Linked DNA regions of Homo sapiens: region 1 is linked to region 2. The links are contacts of gene promoters, found by promoter capture Hi-C in human tissues and cell types (Jung and others, 2019). All regions are on one chromosome and are shown on one strand. Each heading gives the region's core, a stretch centred on a gene start or on the middle of the fragment in contact. The rest is flanking DNA. Distances are from core to core; before and after follow the strand shown. Region 1 overlaps SLC25A21 (solute carrier family 25 member 21). Region 2 holds the start of NKX2-8 (NK2 homeobox 8).

What was found. The method cuts DNA at HindIII sites, captures the fragments that hold promoters and counts their contacts. A contact is called where the count stands out against the background at its distance.
Region 1: a fragment that was not itself captured here is called in contact with the fragment with the promoter of NKX2-8 in region 2 in 4 of the 25 tissues and cell types used here (hippocampus, lymphoblastoid cells, mesenchymal stem cells and 1 more).

The regions. Positions count from the first base shown.
Region 1 is chr14:36,941,819-36,945,700 of GRCh38, reverse strand. The region is part of intron 1 of SLC25A21 (solute carrier family 25 member 21); the gene reads left to right. Among named protein-coding and RNA genes, the nearest start is that of MIR4503, 8.6 kb to the left of the region's middle. The HindIII fragment of the contact is 5,369 bases long and covers 1-3,882 here.
Region 2 is chr14:36,580,637-36,584,899 of GRCh38, reverse strand. NKX2-8 (NK2 homeobox 8) reads left to right here and starts at 2,286. Exons shown (of 2, transcript NM_014360.4): 1 at 2,286-2,667; 2 at 3,436-4,263. The coding sequence starts at 2,511. The coding sequence ends at 3,998. RefSeq lists enhancers at 2,895-3,705, 3,706-4,263. The HindIII fragment of the contact is 13,278 bases long and covers 1-4,263 here.

The DNA of each region.
Region 1 (3,882 bases), core at 40-2,539, 360 kb before region 2:
GATGCCAACATTCTATTTTCTGTTTCTATGAATTTGATTATTCTAGGTATATACCATATATAAGTGGAATTGCACAGTATCTGTCCTTTTAGGACTGGCTTATTTCATGTAGCATAATGTCCTCAACGTTTATTCATGTTAGCATGTGTCAGAATGTCCTTCCTTTTTAAGGCTAAATAATATTCCATTTGTATGGATATACTTTATTTTGTTTTTCCATTCATCTGTCGATGAACACGGGTTGCTTCTACCTCTTGCCTCTCATGAATAGCGCTGCTGTGAATGTGGGGGTACAAATATCTCTTCAAGTCTCTGCTTTCAGTTCTTTGGGGTATATGCCCAGAAGTGGATTTTCTGGATTATATGGTTAAAATTTGTCTTACACAGGCTAAAAATGAGATGTCTCACTTGGGCACATGGTATCAACTTGTATTTCTGCCTCCATTTGTAGCAATATTCTTTACTTTTATGTCTCAGTTTCTTCATTAAGTGAAGATAACATACCTTATTTCTCAGTAGTTTGAAAGGATTATGGGGACATTTTGCTGATGGACTGGGTAACCACTTCTTCTTATCCTCACAGGTAGTCCTGAAGAACTAAAAATAATAATAATCTGAGTCAGGGGAAAGAGGTTTTTGGTTTGTTTCGGTTTTGGCTTTTGGTTGTCCTGAGAAGACTGACTAGGATGAACACTCCTAGAAAAAGGAAGAAATCAACATGATTTGGCATGTTCTCAGCAACTGTACCAGCAGTGTTATGAAAAGGTCAAAATGATGATAAACCATCATATATTTCAGTTTGAAAATTAGAATTGATTCACACAACAAAAATAAACTGTGATGGGATGAGTCAGCTTCAGGCAGTGGACCTAGCTTTAGGGCATCTCATCTTGGGTCAGTGTTTGTTTGGCTTTTGAGGTAAGGCTCATTCTACTCAATAAAATGAGAGAAGATGGGACAAACTGTGAGAAAGGGAAAAATGTGAAATTTATCTTTGTTAAGGAGGCACATATGAATTCTGTGGCTTAGAAATGCTTTACAAATGTTCATGAGTTTTCTTGTGTATTGAATAGGACATTCGTAGTCACTTGTTTATGCTTACACTGGAGCCGGCCCTTGGAGCCCCACCCTTCAGGGAGAAGACTGTGGAACAGATGTCGCTCTCCACAGCCTGTGTGGATGAGGGAGAGAGGAGATCCTCTCACTATCTGTGATGTTTCCTCCCCCAGCATGGTTTACTAAGTGTTAGTCATCTCTCAAGGCCCAGCTGCCTCCTTCAGAAAGCCTTCCTTGATACCCTATGCCCTCCACCCGCAACCTGCCAACTCCTACCGCAAGCTGAAGGCAGTTTTCTTCCTCTGGACTCCCATAACAATTTCTCAAAGCCCACTGGGACAATCACTTTTGTCTGCTACTTGTCCACATGTCTTTCCTCCCCTATTAATGGCAGGCTATGGGTTTGTCCTTGCCCGACAGTATGCTGGGCTAGGGTCCCAGGTGTCGACAGGATTCAGGATATGACCTTGACAACTGGCCAGAGGCACCTGCATTTACCTCTGGTCACTCTTCAGTACAGAGGCCAACACGGGAGCATGGCTCTGTGATGTAAATGGAGAAGGATTAGAGCAGAATTTTTATATGTATGAATTTGGGATTTCAGAGGGAATTGGGTATCCTTTTCTTGGAGTGAATTAGGCCCAATCTGTTGCCTTTTATCTCCTCTAATAAATTTAGTGGTGATAATTTTATATTTAATATAAACATCTTTTACTATGTATTTTTTCAATTAATTAATTAAACTTGTTACAGGGAAATATGTTACTAGGAGGTTTCTTAGCCAGCTTTTTAAACAAAGGCTTCTTGCTAACTGGAAGGCCCAGTTAGGTGGTATAAGACTCATACCCTGTTCTTATTTCCAAGCCTTGGCGAAACCTTCCTGACCTGACTTTGCAGTGCTCTCTCAGGTTTGGTACTGTGTAAGCTACAAAGAGCCAAGTGGAACTGTCACTGGGTTACCTGGCATTTCCCCAGACTTTCACAAGGACCGATTTACCAGGGGCAGTTCATCTTGGTCTTACATATAGCAGCAGGGCAGGGACTCAGAGGGACAGAAGCAGCCCTCCAATAGTGTGAATACTTAGAATAGTTCATTTGTGTGCTCTGAAATAAACCCCTACATGTCTAAGACATGATACAAAACAAGCCTAGGGCCAGGTGCGGTGACTTATGCCTGTAATCCCAGCACTTTTGGGAGGCCAAGGCGGGCAGATCACATGAGGCCAGGAGCTCAAGACCAGCCTGGCCAACATGGTGAAAGGGTGTCTTTACTAAAAATACAAAAATTAGCCGGGTGTGGTGGAGCGTGCCTGTAATTCTAGCTAGTCGGGAGGCTGAGGCAGGAGAATCACTTGAACCCGGGAGGCAGAGAGCTGCAGTGAGTTGAGATTGCACCACTGCACTTCAGCCTGGGTGACAGAGTGAGACTCAGTCTTAAACACAGGGACAGTGACTAAAATCTATCTCCCTATGTAGGAAAATATAATAGAATTCTTTCTTCAGCAAATCATAGAGTCTCACAATTGGGAAGACTATAGAGTTCACTTGGTGGACTTGACTGATGTGTGACTCTCTCTGGCATGTAGTAGTAATTCCGCCTTTGCTCAGATTTGCGTTTCTGACTCATTGCCTTCTAAGGCAGAAGCAGCTCTCTACTGGAACCATACCTTCCCCAGTCCCAAAAGATGGGGGTGGACTAGGGGAGGGGCTCAAATCTAAATTTACCCTCCTACTAAAAAGTGCCATGAAGGAAAAATAACTATACCTCTGCACATAATATTTTAGTTTGAAAACTCCAAATTTAGTGTATAAGTAGTATAAGTACTATTTGGTTACTTATGTCCCAAATACAGACTGAACTTCACAAACAGCCGGTCACTTGATTTCATCAAAATTCTTTGCTTGATGGAGAACAGACTAGTGTGACCAGCTTTGGCAGAACATATCAAGGGAAAAGAAAATTGCACAAGTCTTTTCACCACGTTATATTTTTCACCACAGCTGGTCTTTTTCCTCTCCACCACTTCTACCCCTCCAAATTTTCTTTCTGTCCTTGCATAAAATTAAAATCATAACATTTGGTTGCATAGTTAGGATTAATTACTCCAGATACTTTTCATTTATCTTCCTTTCAAATATGTGTGATAGAAAGCATAGATTAAAATAATTAAAATGTGTTCTCCCAACGTGCCTGAGAGCCAAGGTAGACAACTGTCCTACCGCCGTCCGCCACTAGGTGCCAGCACGGTTCTGCTCCCTGCTTAGTTCTTGTCCCAAGATAGTTCAGCGAAGCTTCCAGCTTCTTTAAGAACGTGTACCTTGCATGTATGGCATATTTTTGTGTATTTATATTGTTTCAGAAATTGGACTAGATTTAAGCAAAAATATTCTCAGGACACTTGGCTTTCTAATCGCGAAGAATTTCAGTTTCAAAAAGAATTGAAGGTATAATGAATTTAAGTCATTAGAAACAGCTAGGTGATTTTTTTTTTTAGTTCAAACTCTTAAGCTCGGTGTTAATTGTAAGAGAATGAATAATAGTCTAACTAATTGAAAATTAAACACGTGTAATAAAAATAAATATAAAGTGGTGATGGCATATTTCCGGAGTCATAAGAACAAAATTTTACCAGTTTTGTTATTTTAGGTTTAGCTTTTTACATTGATACAATTATTTCTCCTCTGATGATGTGCATGTAATTTGATGTATCATTGATTTTGCTTCATCTAATTACATGTTCTAAGTTTATTTAAAAAAAATTTATTTAAACATTTGAAAAAATGTTTATTTCAGAATATTTCAAATAAAGACACTATTTTCACACA
Region 2 (4,263 bases), core at 1,037-3,536:
AAATGCTACAATGAAGATAGGTTTAGAAAAATTCCTGAGATACAGAATCATAAAACTGGTAGGGTCCTTAGAAATTACCAAATCTATTCTCCTACTATCTTCTGTATCAGATTAATTTTAAAAAAAAAAAGGAAGGAAGGAAGCTTAGAGAAATGAGGTGGTTAGAGATAGGTAGGGGCAGAGCGAGGATGCGAACCGATTTCCAGGCCAGAGCTCCTTCTACCTTACACAATCTCATAGTTCAAGACCGAATTTGGGAATCAGTCTTAACACTTGCTTCCCCAGGACGGTCTTTGTCAGTGCCTCAGCTTCTCACTAGGGAGGTGGGCTGGCAGAGATTGCCAGGCCTCGGGCTCTGGCCAGAGATAAGTCCACGAGGCCTGGAGCCAGTCTGCGACCTGCCCACTCTCTAGACGCTGGGGGCTCGGGAGCTGAGGAGCGGTGCGCGGCGGGTTTCCAGACTCCGCTGTCCCCTGCCCACTCCAGGCTCCCGCCCCGGCCCCGTCTGCAGAGAGGACAGCCAAGTCATTTCAGTTTAATCTTATTTAAAAAGACATAACTAATAAATCTATTGCCAGGGCCGCGGAAAGACGGCCAGCAGAGTCGATCGTGCTCCCAATCCCATTGAACCCCATTGAAAACCATGACAACACCGGACAAGCTCCGATTTATCCCGGCGCGTTAAAGCGCATTGTGAGCAGACGTCAATCATGCATTATTCCGGACTGAACAAATGCAAAATCTTGACTGGAACAAATGCTTCCAACAGGTCCGGGGCGTCGAGCTCCATTTCCCCTTTGTCCGCGGCCTAGCAGTTGGCCTGTATTGGGGTTGCCTCCGCCCGACCACCCAGCGCGCGGTGCAGCTCCGGGCACCTCGGGCACGCTTGATAGGGAGGCTGCTGGGGAGGGTGCGCGGGGCTTGACAGGGCCGCCGCCGCCGCATCCGAGCCAGGTTCGAGTTCAGCCCGGGAGGAGCCAGGACTTCTGGTGCAGCCACCCAAGTACAGAGCCCTTCGCTACAATTTAGCAACTAAATATCCAAACTACTAGCTTCAGTAGGAGAGGCCTCTGAGAGGGCGTTCCTCTGTAGATTGAAGCGCGGCCAGAGCTAGGCCATGGCCCAACAAAATGTATCCACGGCGGCCTGTTCCCTGCGCCTCCTACATTGATCATTTTCTAGGGTGGAACTGTGGAAACTAGAAGATCCCAGAGAAACCCATGGCCGGTGGTATTTTCTGCCGGGTAGGCCCTGTCCTAATTCTCCCGATCGGTCCATTCCCGGACCAAGGCGGGCAGCCTCGTCAGGGTCTGCCATGCTGCGAGCGGGGAGCGTAGGCCATGGGCAGGCTCCTGGGCAAAGACCAAAGCCCAGGCAGTGAGAGTGCCGTTGAGGCTATGGGGCCAAGGCGCACAGGCGGCACCAGTTCATCTGGCGACTCCAAGGAGGCCTCAAAGCCCTCACAGGATGCCCTGAGAAGCGCCCCCGCCCAGGGGCTCTAAAGCGGGCCTGGACCCAAATTTGTGGAGCTCGGCCTCCGAGCTCCGAGATCGGCAGCGGCCGGGCGAAGCTGGGCCAAAGAGACAGGCACTGTAGACCTAAGTAGCTTGGCTACAAGCCTCTTCTGTTTTGCCGGCCTGTGGAGACGTGGAGCTGGGGCTCCGAATGTTGTCCCAGCCCTTCCTCAGCACCTCTGAGGCTGTTAGGGGGATGTATGGTGTGATCCGAGGCTCCCAGCGGCCGTTGAAACCCCTGGGCCAATGCTGGCAGGGCCAGGCTAATCTTTACGCCCTCCTGAAACTTGTCATCCTGAATCTTAGAGGGGCCCAACCAAAAAGAGAAAGGGAGCGCGCCAGAGTTTAACGCCGCTTTGTAAATCACTTTCTGGATAATTGCGGGAAACTACCACTCCAGCAAACAAGCTCGAAGAATAAAGCAAACAGGGAATAAATTCCTGGGTGCTAATAAACCCACCCCTGCCACCCCCACCCTTCCCGGCGCTCCCGCGGGGCCTGGCCTCAAGTCAGCCCAGGAGGAGGAGGAGGAAGCTGGGGCTGGGTCAGGCGGGTGGTGGCCACCGCTCGCCACCCAAGATGTTATTCACTGGTAACAATCCCCATTATCTGTCCCCACTTTGGGCTAATCAGACAGAATCGCTAATGCCAAATGCTGCTTCCTGCAGCCTCTGGGAGGTAACTGGGCGCCAAGGGGCGGGGTGCGGGGCGGGGTGCGGGGCGGGGCGGGGGCGGAGGTGGCACCTTCCGGGCTCGCCCCGGCTCTGGTCCAGTGCTCATTCAGGTACTTAACACCCTGGAGACCCGGACCTCGGCTTTCAAAGCGGCCTGGGTGGGAAGAGCTGTTTATATAAACAGAGATTCCGCTGTAAATGCGCTAATATCCCGGCTGCCAGCGCATGGCGAGCGCCTCCCACGCCCATCCGTAGGAGCGGCGTCCCGGCCGCCCCTCCGTTCCCAGCCTGCCCTGCCCCCGCCTCCTTCCCCTCCTCGGCCATGGCCACCTCTGGACGCCTGAGCTTCACCGTGCGCAGCCTTCTAGATTTACCCGAGCAGGACGCGCAACACCTGCCGAGGCGGGAGCCAGAACCACGCGCCCCCCAGCCCGACCCCTGCGCCGCCTGGCTGGATTCGGAGCGCGGCCACTACCCTTGTAAGTGCGTGGTGGATTGCGGTGCGGGGTGGGAGGTAGGAGGCGTGGGGCAGCAGAATCAAGGGCCCAGCCCACGAGGGGCCGGAAAGCCGAAATCCCAGCCCAGAGTCTAGATTTCCTCAGTCTTGGAAACGGGAGCCCTGTCCTCGAACCCCTAACGCATTCATCCCGGTCGGCACATCCTAAGAGCAGATCCCTGCCTGGCACTGGTGCTCCGAGATTTGGGGTTTCTGTGTCTGACGATTTCTAGAGGTCGGAATAATTGAAATTTAAAACGCGCCGCCACCTGCCGCCCCCACCCCACCCCCCGCCCCCTCTCCATGCCTGAAAACACGGCCACGATCTCCAGGCCTCCGTCTGGGATGGCCAGTGTTGGCGAGTTTACCCCCACCCCGTTCCCACTCAGGGCTCCGCAAACCTCGGCACACTGCAGTGCAGTCGACCTGGAGGAGGCCGGCGCTGGTGACCCAGCTTGTGATAAACTGGTCGGCCAGCGCAACTACCGGTGCGGACATGTTAAGAGGGCCCCGGGGTGGGTTTTTTCGGGGCACGATCTCAGGCCCGCTGATGACCGCTGTGGTATGAATGAGGTCACCGCATTCGGAGAGGTGGATGTCCAGATGTGGACTCAGGAAATGGCCTCATCCCGAAAGTCTCGGGCTAGTGGGCGTGCCCTCTGGCCAGTGCCTCCACGCCCGCGCCAGAAGGGCAGCAGGCCCTCGTAGGGTCCGGCGTCTCACCCACCCGTGTCTCCTTTGCTGTCCCTAGCCTCGGACGAGAGCAGCCTGGAGACCAGCCCGCCAGACTCGTCGCAGCGGCCGTCCGCTAGGCCCGCGTCTCCGGGCTCGGACGCCGAGAAAAGGAAGAAGCGGCGGGTGCTATTCTCCAAGGCGCAGACGCTGGAGTTGGAGCGGCGCTTCCGGCAGCAGCGGTACCTGTCTGCGCCCGAGCGCGAGCAGCTGGCGAGCCTGCTTCGCCTCACGCCCACGCAGGTCAAGATCTGGTTCCAGAATCATCGCTACAAGCTGAAGCGCGCTCGCGCTCCAGGGGCGGCGGAGTCGCCTGACCTGGCAGCATCCGCCGAGCTGCACGCCGCGCCCGGCCTGCTGCGTCGCGTGGTGGTGCCGGTGCTTGTTCGCGACGGGCAGCCGTGCGGCGGCGGCGGCGGTGGCGAGGTGGGAACCGCCGCGGCCCAGGAGAAGTGCGGCGCCCCTCCAGCCGCCGCCTGCCCTCTGCCGGGCTACCCTGCCTTCGGTCCCGGCTCGGCGCTTGGCCTCTTCCCCGCCTACCAGCACTTAGCATCCCCCGCCCTGGTCTCCTGGAACTGGTGAGGCCGCAGGGCGGCACCTGGGGCTACCCTCGACTTTGGAGCGCGCTCTGCGATTGGAGCAGGGCCGGAGCCGAACGCCTGGAACGCTCTCCGTCCGCCTCCCTGCAGCCCCATCTCCTTGGGCGCCAGGGTCCCTGGCGCGCCCTCATCAGCCGTCGCGCAAGCACACACGAGGGACGTGTGCCAGAGCCCCCTCCCTCACCTTCCCTCCACCGCCAGCCCCAGAGTTAGATTTTATGCTTGGGCCTTATTTGTATATTTTTAAA